Linked DNA regions of Homo sapiens: region 1 is linked to region 2. The links are contacts of gene promoters, found by promoter capture Hi-C in human tissues and cell types (Jung and others, 2019). All regions are on one chromosome and are shown on one strand. The core of a region is centred on a gene start or on the middle of the fragment in contact, and the rest is flanking DNA. Distances in the headings are between cores, read along the strand shown. Region 1 overlaps TUBGCP3 (tubulin gamma complex component 3). Region 2 holds the start of DCUN1D2 (defective in cullin neddylation 1 domain containing 2).

Evidence for each region. The method cuts DNA at HindIII sites, captures the fragments that hold promoters and counts their contacts. A contact is called where the count stands out against the background at its distance.
Region 1: a fragment that was not itself captured here is called in contact with the fragment with the promoter of DCUN1D2 in region 2 in 1 of the 25 tissues and cell types used here (dorsolateral prefrontal cortex).

The regions. Positions count from the first base shown.
Region 1 is chr13:112,571,696-112,575,784 of GRCh38, reverse strand. All of the region lies in intron 1 of TUBGCP3 (tubulin gamma complex component 3), which reads left to right. Among named protein-coding and RNA genes, the nearest start is that of TUBGCP3, 14 kb to the left of the region's middle. The HindIII fragment of the contact is 4,851 bases long and covers 180-4,089 here.
Region 2 is chr13:113,488,169-113,492,013 of GRCh38, reverse strand. It overlaps DCUN1D2 (defective in cullin neddylation 1 domain containing 2), which reads left to right and starts at 1,303. Exons shown (of 7, transcript NM_001014283.2): 1 at 1,303-1,347. The coding sequence starts at 1,345. It overlaps SLC9D1 (solute carrier family 9 member D1), which reads right to left and starts at 993. Exons shown (of 13, transcript NM_017905.6): 1 at 741-993. RefSeq lists a silencer at 683-1,602 and an enhancer at 1,833-2,132. The HindIII fragment of the contact is 3,591 bases long and covers 1-2,872 here.

The sequences.
Region 1 (4,089 bases), core at 1,356-3,855, 920 kb after region 2:
GTTAAGGATTACTAGTTTAATTCTGTTAGTGTTAGAGGACATACTTTGAATAATTTTATTGTTTTCTATTTAATCAGACTGCTTTGTGACCCACAATTCAGTCTGTCCTGAATGTTCCACGTGCATTTGAAAAGAGCGTGTGTTGTTTTGTTGTGGGGTGGGCTGTTGTGTGAATACCGATTAGGTTTAGTTGGTTGTTGGTGTTCAAGTTGATATCCTTGCTCATTTTCTCTTCACTTGCCCTTTGGATTACTGAGAAATGCCCCTTGATGTCTCCAGATGTATTTGTGAATGTCTGTTTTTCCTTTCAGTTCTATTAGAGTTTGCTTCATGTGCCTTACAGCTCTGCTGTTTAGAGTGTTCACATTTAGAATTGCTATGTCATCTTGGTGAATTGCCCTTTTATCATTTTGTGATCCCTACTTTATCCTTGTTAATTTTTCTTAGTCTAAAGTTTACTTTGTCTGATAGAAATGTAGCCAGTTCACGTTCTTTGAATAGTGTTTTCATGGAATATCTTTCTTCTTCCTTTCATTTTTAAGGATATCTTTCATCATGTCTCAGTTGGGCTCCTTCTCGATAGTACACAGCTTTAAGGGGTGACTTTTTCCAGCTTCCTCTTCTGTGCTGCTGCCCTCACTCTGGTTCCCAACACATTTCCTCATGTTCTGGCTAAAATCCGAACCCCCAGCCTGCCAGCCTTGTGATGGAGTTTTGGGGCCATTATTGGTTCTTGTCAAGTGTGGAATGGGGCAGCCCACTGCGGGGGTGCCCCTGAAGGTAGAAGGGGCTGGTAGCCTGGCGCAGGGCTGGGAGAGCTGTGGTGCTTCCTCCCTCCCTCCCCACCTGGGCCCTGGCTGGGGAGACTGGGCCTGGCTCGGAGGTTTTTCTGTCTTTGCCTGTTTGTGGTTTGGGTTTTGGAGTGTTACCCAGCCCCAGCTGGTGCAGTAAACAGCAAACAGATAAAGAAAATATCAAAAAGCAAAAATGGGGGAAGTCATTCCAGGATTTCCTTTGATTCATCAGTTTCATACCCAGTCTGCTTCTCTTACCCATTGTTCAGAGTCTGATTGGAGGTGTTTTATGTATTTTTGCCAGAGTTTTACATTGTCATCAGTAGTGGAGTGTGCTTACTCTGTCTTGACGGAGATGACTTCTGTCTCTAGTTTCTTCTTTCAAGTCAATCCTGTTTGTTTTCTTTACATCTTTCAGGGATTCTTCAGTTTCTGTTTCACCAAGAGTGCTCTTCTTAGATCCACTTTTCTGGTTTTGTTTATATCTTCCTTAAATCCTTTGTTACATTTCTGGGGATTTTGGATTGTCTATGGATTGGGCAGGGGAAGTCACACTGTGAGCTCAGAGTGCCCACTTGAAGATTCTCTGTGGATTGGGCAGGGGAAGCCACACTGAGCTCAGAGTGCCCACTTGAAGATTCTCTGTGGATTGGGCAGGGGGAAGCCACACTGAGCTCAGAGTGCTCACTTGAAGATTCTCTGTGGATTGGGCAGGGGAAGCCACACTGTGAGCGTGGAGTGCCCACTTGAAGATTCTTTGTGGATTGGGCAGGGGGAAGCCACACTGTGAGCTCAGAGTGCCCACTTGAAGATTCTCTGTGGATTGGGCAGGGGGAAGCCACACTGTGAGCTCAGAGTGCCCACTTGAAGATTCTCTGTGGATTGGGCAGGGGAAGCCACACTGAGCTCAGAGTGCCCACTTGAAGATTCTCTGTGGATTGGGCAGGGGAAGCCACACTGTGAGCTCAGAGTGCTCACTTAAAGATTCTCTGCGGATTGGGCAGAGGAAGCCATACTGAGCTCAGAGTGCCCACTTGAATTTCCAGGTGCCACTCATAGTTCCACTTCCTTCCTAGGATGGAGAACAGTGTTGGCTTTTGCTGGCAGATGCAGCTGGGCACTGCCCTGTTGGGCTGCTCCTCTGCATCCCGGGTTGAACTGGGCCCAGCACTCAGTGGTGGGGGTGGGGGGATCTGGAGGTATCTACTGGTAACTTGACTTCTAGAGTCATAGAAGTTGGGCAGACAGGCAGGCTATCCCACCCTGGCACCAGCTCCAATCCACTTATTGAAGTGATTGCTTTCGGAAGGTGGAGGCTTTCTGAAAGATTTCTTCCTGACCCTTGACGTTCTTTTGCTGCTGAGATTGTAGTGGGGAACATTCTTCTCCCAGATCCCTTGTACTGAGGGTGGGAGTTCCTCAGATTGGGAGTTTGCCTCTGCAGAGATGAGAGCCTGGATTTTTTCCTGGGGCTAAGGCAGTTGCTGTGAACCATGTAACTTCCAAGGCCCTTCCCTTCTCATCCTTTCTGTCTTGTATGACTTCTTTGGACATTTATTCCACTCCAGGTTTCTCCCTCCCCACTTCTGCCTGGGCTGATCTGGTGATTTCCTTGTCTTGGCTGTCGTAATTTCCATCTTTTTGCCTTTTTGTTTTAGTTTTTGAGAGACTTCTTCAACTTTAAATACAAGCTTTCTACTTATTTTAAAAAACATCTGCCTTCATACTTTTAATATTCAAGAGCTTGTCTTCTCTGAATTTATGGCATACTGTTTTGTTTCATGGATGTGTTATGTCTAATCTCGTAGGCCATTATAGCTTGTTTTTGTACATCTTGCCCCCATTTTCTTATTCCCTACGTTGTTACTTTTTCTTAGAGTTTCCTTTTTTCCTTCTTGTGTTTGTCTCCTTTTTGTTTTAGATGATGCCCTCAGGTATCTGGCGATACCTGTTCTTTTCATCTTTAAGAGTGGAGTTGTCGGAAGGTCTTGGCTAGGGCAGCATTTGCCCAGTGCTGAGCTTCCTTGTGGAGGACAGGCACACGTCATCTTATTGTCCTTTACAGATACTGCGTTATTTGACAATTGGAAGTTTTTGGCACCCTGCGTTGGGCAAGTCTTTAGGTACCATTTTTCCAACAGCATGTGCTCACTTTGTATCTCTGTGTCATATTTGGAAATTCTCACAGTATTTCAGACTTTTTCATGATTATTACATCTGTTACGTTGATGTGTAACTTGTGATCTTTGATGCTGCTGTTGTAATTGTTTTGGGGTGCCATGAAGTGCGCAAACTTAATCAAAAAGTGTTGTGTATGTTCTGACTACTCTGCCGACCAGCTGTTCCCTGTCTCACCCTCTCTCCTCAGGCCTCCCTATTTCCTGAGTCACAACAATATTGAAATTAGGCCAGTTAATAGCCTTACAGTGACCTCTTACTGTTTAAGTGAAATTAGTGATCAACAGAAAACCAAACATGACCTTCTCACTCATAAGTGGGAGTTGAACAGTGAGAACACATGGACACAGAGAGGGGAACAACACACACCAGAGCCTGTTGGAGGGTGGGGGGTGAGGGGCGGGAACTTAGAGGACGGGTCATTAGGTGCCGCAAACCAGCACAGCACACGTATACCTATGTAACAAACCTGCCACACGTGTACCTGTGTAACAAACCTGCACGTTCTGCACATGTATCCCGCTTTTTGTTTTTTAGAAGAAATAATAATAAAAGAAATTAGTGTTCAAGTGAAATGAAGAGTCACATGCCTCTCACTTTAAATCAAAAGCTAGAAATGGTTAAGCTTGGTGAGGAAGGCATGCCAAAAGCTGAGATACGCGAGAAGCTAGGCCTCTTATGCCAGTTAGTCAAGTTGTGATTGAATAGGAAAAGTTCTTGAAGGAAATTACAAATGCTATTCCAGTGAACACAAGAGTAATAAATTGAAACAGCCTTATTGCTAATATGGAGAAAGTTTGAGTGGTCTGGATAGAAGATCAAACCAGCCACAGCATTCCTTTAAGCCAAAACCTAATCTTGAGCAAGACCTTAATTCTGTGAAGGCTGAGAGAGGTGAGGAAGCTGCAGAAGAAAAGTTAGAAGCTAGCAGGGGTTTTTAGTTCATGAGACTGAAGGAAAGAAGCTGTCTCCATAACATAAAAATGCAAGGTGAAGCAGCACCTGCTAATGGAGAAGCTGCAGCAAGTCATCCAGAACTAGCTGAGATCATTGGGGAAGGTGGCTACACTAACAACAGATTTTCAGTGTAAGTGAAACACCCTTCTATTGGAATAAG
Region 2 (3,845 bases), core at 54-2,553:
AAAGCTTTAGAATATTTAAGTCAAGCCTGTAGGAGAAAAAAACTACAAATATTTCACAAGTAATCCAATCATTAAGACACTCCTTTTGAAAAAGCCGGTAAATAAGATAAATTTGGAAGACAGAATAATCAGAAAAACAGGCAGTGAATAGGGACCCGATACGCAGCGGTCTTGCTTCCCCCGCGCAGGCGTCCACACCCTGGGTCATGGACACCGTGAGGAGCCGTTAGGAGTCACAGGAGGGGGGCCAGGGACAGGGCTGCATCTCTGCGGCCGGCCCTGGAGGCCCCGAGTCCACCCGGGCGGCCAGGGTGGGAACGCAGGTTCCATTCCAGGTTAGAACGTGGGCCTCAGCGAAGAGCGCCTAGGCAAGGCCTGGAGGAGCGGGACCCCAGGCCACACAGACCACCCGACCCCGGGAGACAATACCTGCAAGAAAAGGGGAGCCCCGAGGAGAGAGAGAGGGGAGGTGAGCCCCAGGGAGGGAGAGAGAGGAGGGGAGCCCCAGGGAGGGAGGGAAGGAAGGAAGGGGACCCCTGGGAAGGGAAGAAGGGAATGGGAGCCCCGGGGAGGGAGAGAGGGGAGCCCCAGGGAGGGAGGGAAGGAAGGAAGGGGACCCTTGGGAAGGGAAGAAGGGAAGGTGAGCCCCGGGGAGGGAGAGAGGGGAGGGGAGCCCCAGGGAGGGAGGGAAGGAAGGGGACCCCGGGAAAGAGCCCCGGATGGACGGGCCTGGTGCTCACCGGGACGCAGGGATCCGCGCCCGCCCGTCCGGCCCGAGCATCACCGTTCCGCGGCCTGGGCCGGGCTCTGAGGCGCCAGGACCCGAGGGGCGGAGGGGGACGCTGTCTCCCGCCTCGGAGCGCAGCGCCGGAGGGCTTCCTTGCATCCCTTCCCAGGCGGGACCAGGGAGGCCGGGAGGCCGGGAGTCCGGGAGGGAGCGGCCGCCGCCCTGCCCAGCACCGCCCCCGCTCAGCCAAGCCGACCCGGACTCCCGCCCAGCCGCAGTCACTGCCCCCTTTAAGAGGCGGGGCGTGGGCGGGTCCCGTCGGCCGCGGGCGGCGAGCACTTCCTGGCCGGCGTGGGGCCTGGCAGCCGCAGGCTGGCGTTGGACCCCGCAGGGGCGAGCCAAGGCCCTCGCAGAGGGCTGGACGCGCAGGGGCTGTGGGGCGCGAGCTCCCGTGGGCCCCCGGGCGGCGCTGAGCATGCCGGGAGTGGGAGTCCCCGCGGCCGGCTCCCGGCACTGCCCCGGAGCCGAGGGCCGCGGCCGTCCGAGGACGAGGGCGGAGCCGCCGCCGCGCCTGCGCAGAAGGCCGGGGCCGGCCAGAAGCGGGCGGCGCGGGGGAGATGGTAGGTGGCCCGGCGTCGCCTCTGCCCGTCGGGGTCGGGGTCGGGGTCGGGCCCCAAGGTCGGCGCAGGCGGCGCGCTGGATGTGGGAGGCCGAGCCCAGCGAGCTGCGCGGGGCGTTCCGCGTGGATCCGAGGGAGGAACGCGCCGCGGGCCCGCGAGCCGGAGCGGTGGCGTCGGAGGCGCGGGACCGCGGGGAGCGCGGGTTTGACCCGGAGCCGCGAGGGACGACCGGGAGTGAGCGGAGGGCGGGGGCCGGGAGGAACTGTAGGGGCCTTGGGGCAGGGGCCGGGGCCGAGCGGGAACCCAGGCCGGGGGCTTCCCAGGGCGGCTTCGAAACGGGCAGTCGAGGCGGGCGAGGGCTCGGCTGCTCCTGCGGGCGTCTGTGCAGATGCTGAGGCTGTTGACCAAAACAGCGCAAGGAAGGAATCCGCGAGAAGCTCAGATTCGCGGGGGAGGCCCTGCTGCCGGGAGGGGAGGGAGAGGCACAGCGGGGCCCTAGCGCGGGCTCTAGCCGGGAGCTGTAGCGTGGCTGTAGGTGTGCATCTGTGGAGCTGGTAGAGTTCCGCAGCGCAGGAGGGAGGCTGCTGGAGGTGCACATCAGTTACTTTGAAATGTGGTGGAAATGGTGATGGATGGGATTTATTCAGTCCACATCGGTTCAGAGGCCAGCAAGGTGCTGCTGGGTGTGACTGGTGCTGGGCCAGGCATGATCTTGGCGTTGAGGGAGTTGATGCCCCAGCAGGGGAGACAGGCACCAGATGCACAATTGTTTGACCACAGTTGGGACAAAGGCTAAGGCACGGGTTCCAGGAACTTGTAGGATGCGGCTGTGGGAGTGGTGTCAGATGCTGAGGGTGTGAGTTGAACTGTGGAGAATTTCTCTGGAAATTAGCCAGAGAAAAAGTGAGGTTCCGGGGCAGCCAGCCGTGTGCGGCTCCAGGCAGAAGAAACAGAATGCACAGACCCTTAGTGGTAGGCGATGATGACGTATAGGAGCTGAAAGATTGTCCTGGCTAAGGCACAGAGAGCCACCGGAGAAGGGACACGGTAACGTGTAGAGGGGAGTGGAGGGTGAGGACAAGCTTCAGGATGGGAGAAGAGCCACAAAGGAGACTGAGAGGGGGCTGGTAGGAGAAACCAGGACACTAGAATGTGTCGAAACCAAGAGGATGGAGTTTAAAGGAGGAGGGAGCCATCAGCAGTGCTGAACAAAAGAGCAGCTGAAAAGATCCCACTGACCGCAGCAGCCGAGCTTTTGTGACCTTTAGGGGTCACTGCGGAGGCCGGGCTGGAGCCAGGTAGCCTGAGTTAGGATGCACACCTGGGCAGGTAGAGATAGCTTGCTCCAGCTTTTAGGAGGACAGGGGCAGAGTGGACAGGAACTTAGTTTGGGGAAAACTTGAACATGTTCAGGATGCTGGAGAGGAGCGTTCCACTGCTGCCGAGGTTGGAGATCCAAGAGCAGGGATGAATTTAACTCCCCCTCCCTCTAGCGTGCTGTATACCGAAACAGAGTGAAAGTGATCCATAAACTTACGTAGTTTATTCGATCAACATGATTGGCCCGCCAGCCCCGGGTAAGTTGACCCTAAGGACATTTTAAGAGTAATTTCTTTCCATTTTACATATGGGTATCCTTGGTGCCAGATTATATGAGTCGTATTTCACAAGGTCACAATTAAAGTGTTTGAGACTTTTTTATAGTTTAGAGATTTTATTTGCTGTTTCCACTGGATTGTCCAGATTTTTATTTCAAGAATTGTGTACATTTTAACAGAAATAATGAAACCTAGAAAATGCCTTCCCCCCACCCCATGTACACACTTTAAAAGCTGGCCTTAATAATTTAATTTGCATGATGTGGTAAGCCTCAGTGAAGGTTGTGAGCTTGAAGGGCGGCCCTAGTTCCAGTGTATCCACCTTGATTAGATTGACCTGGGTTCAGTCCTGTCTGGGTGCACTCGAAGCTTCTTGCCAACGTCTGGGCCTTTGTTAATTTGACCTGGGTTCAGTCCTCTCTTGGTGCACTCAAAGCTTACTGCCAATGTCTGGGCCTTTGTAAATTTGATCTGGGTTTAGTCCTGTCTAGAGGGACTCGGCTTCCTTCTCTCCCCTGTAGTTTTTTAGTTGACGAGCCTTTTTGTTTCCTAAGAAGCTTTATGCCAGTTCCCTTTTTCACAAGAGGTAACTTGGGTCTCTCAGTCACTTTTGGACATGAAGCACCTAGTCTTTAGACTTAGCTATCGATCATTGCTTTAATCACTGTTATTTTATGGAGAAACCTGTAAGGGGTGACATCAAATGATTGCAGCTTTGTTGACTGACCAGAGGCCTGTTAATGGACTAAGCCTAGACCCCAAAGCTTCTCTTGCTCCTTCAGAACCAGTGCCTTGGCACCACCGTGTGGTTCAGGGTTTACTGGAGTATCTTGTGACATCAGACAATTTGAGTAGATTGCAGGGGGCTCTTCGTGTTTCTGGATACCGACTTCTGTCCAC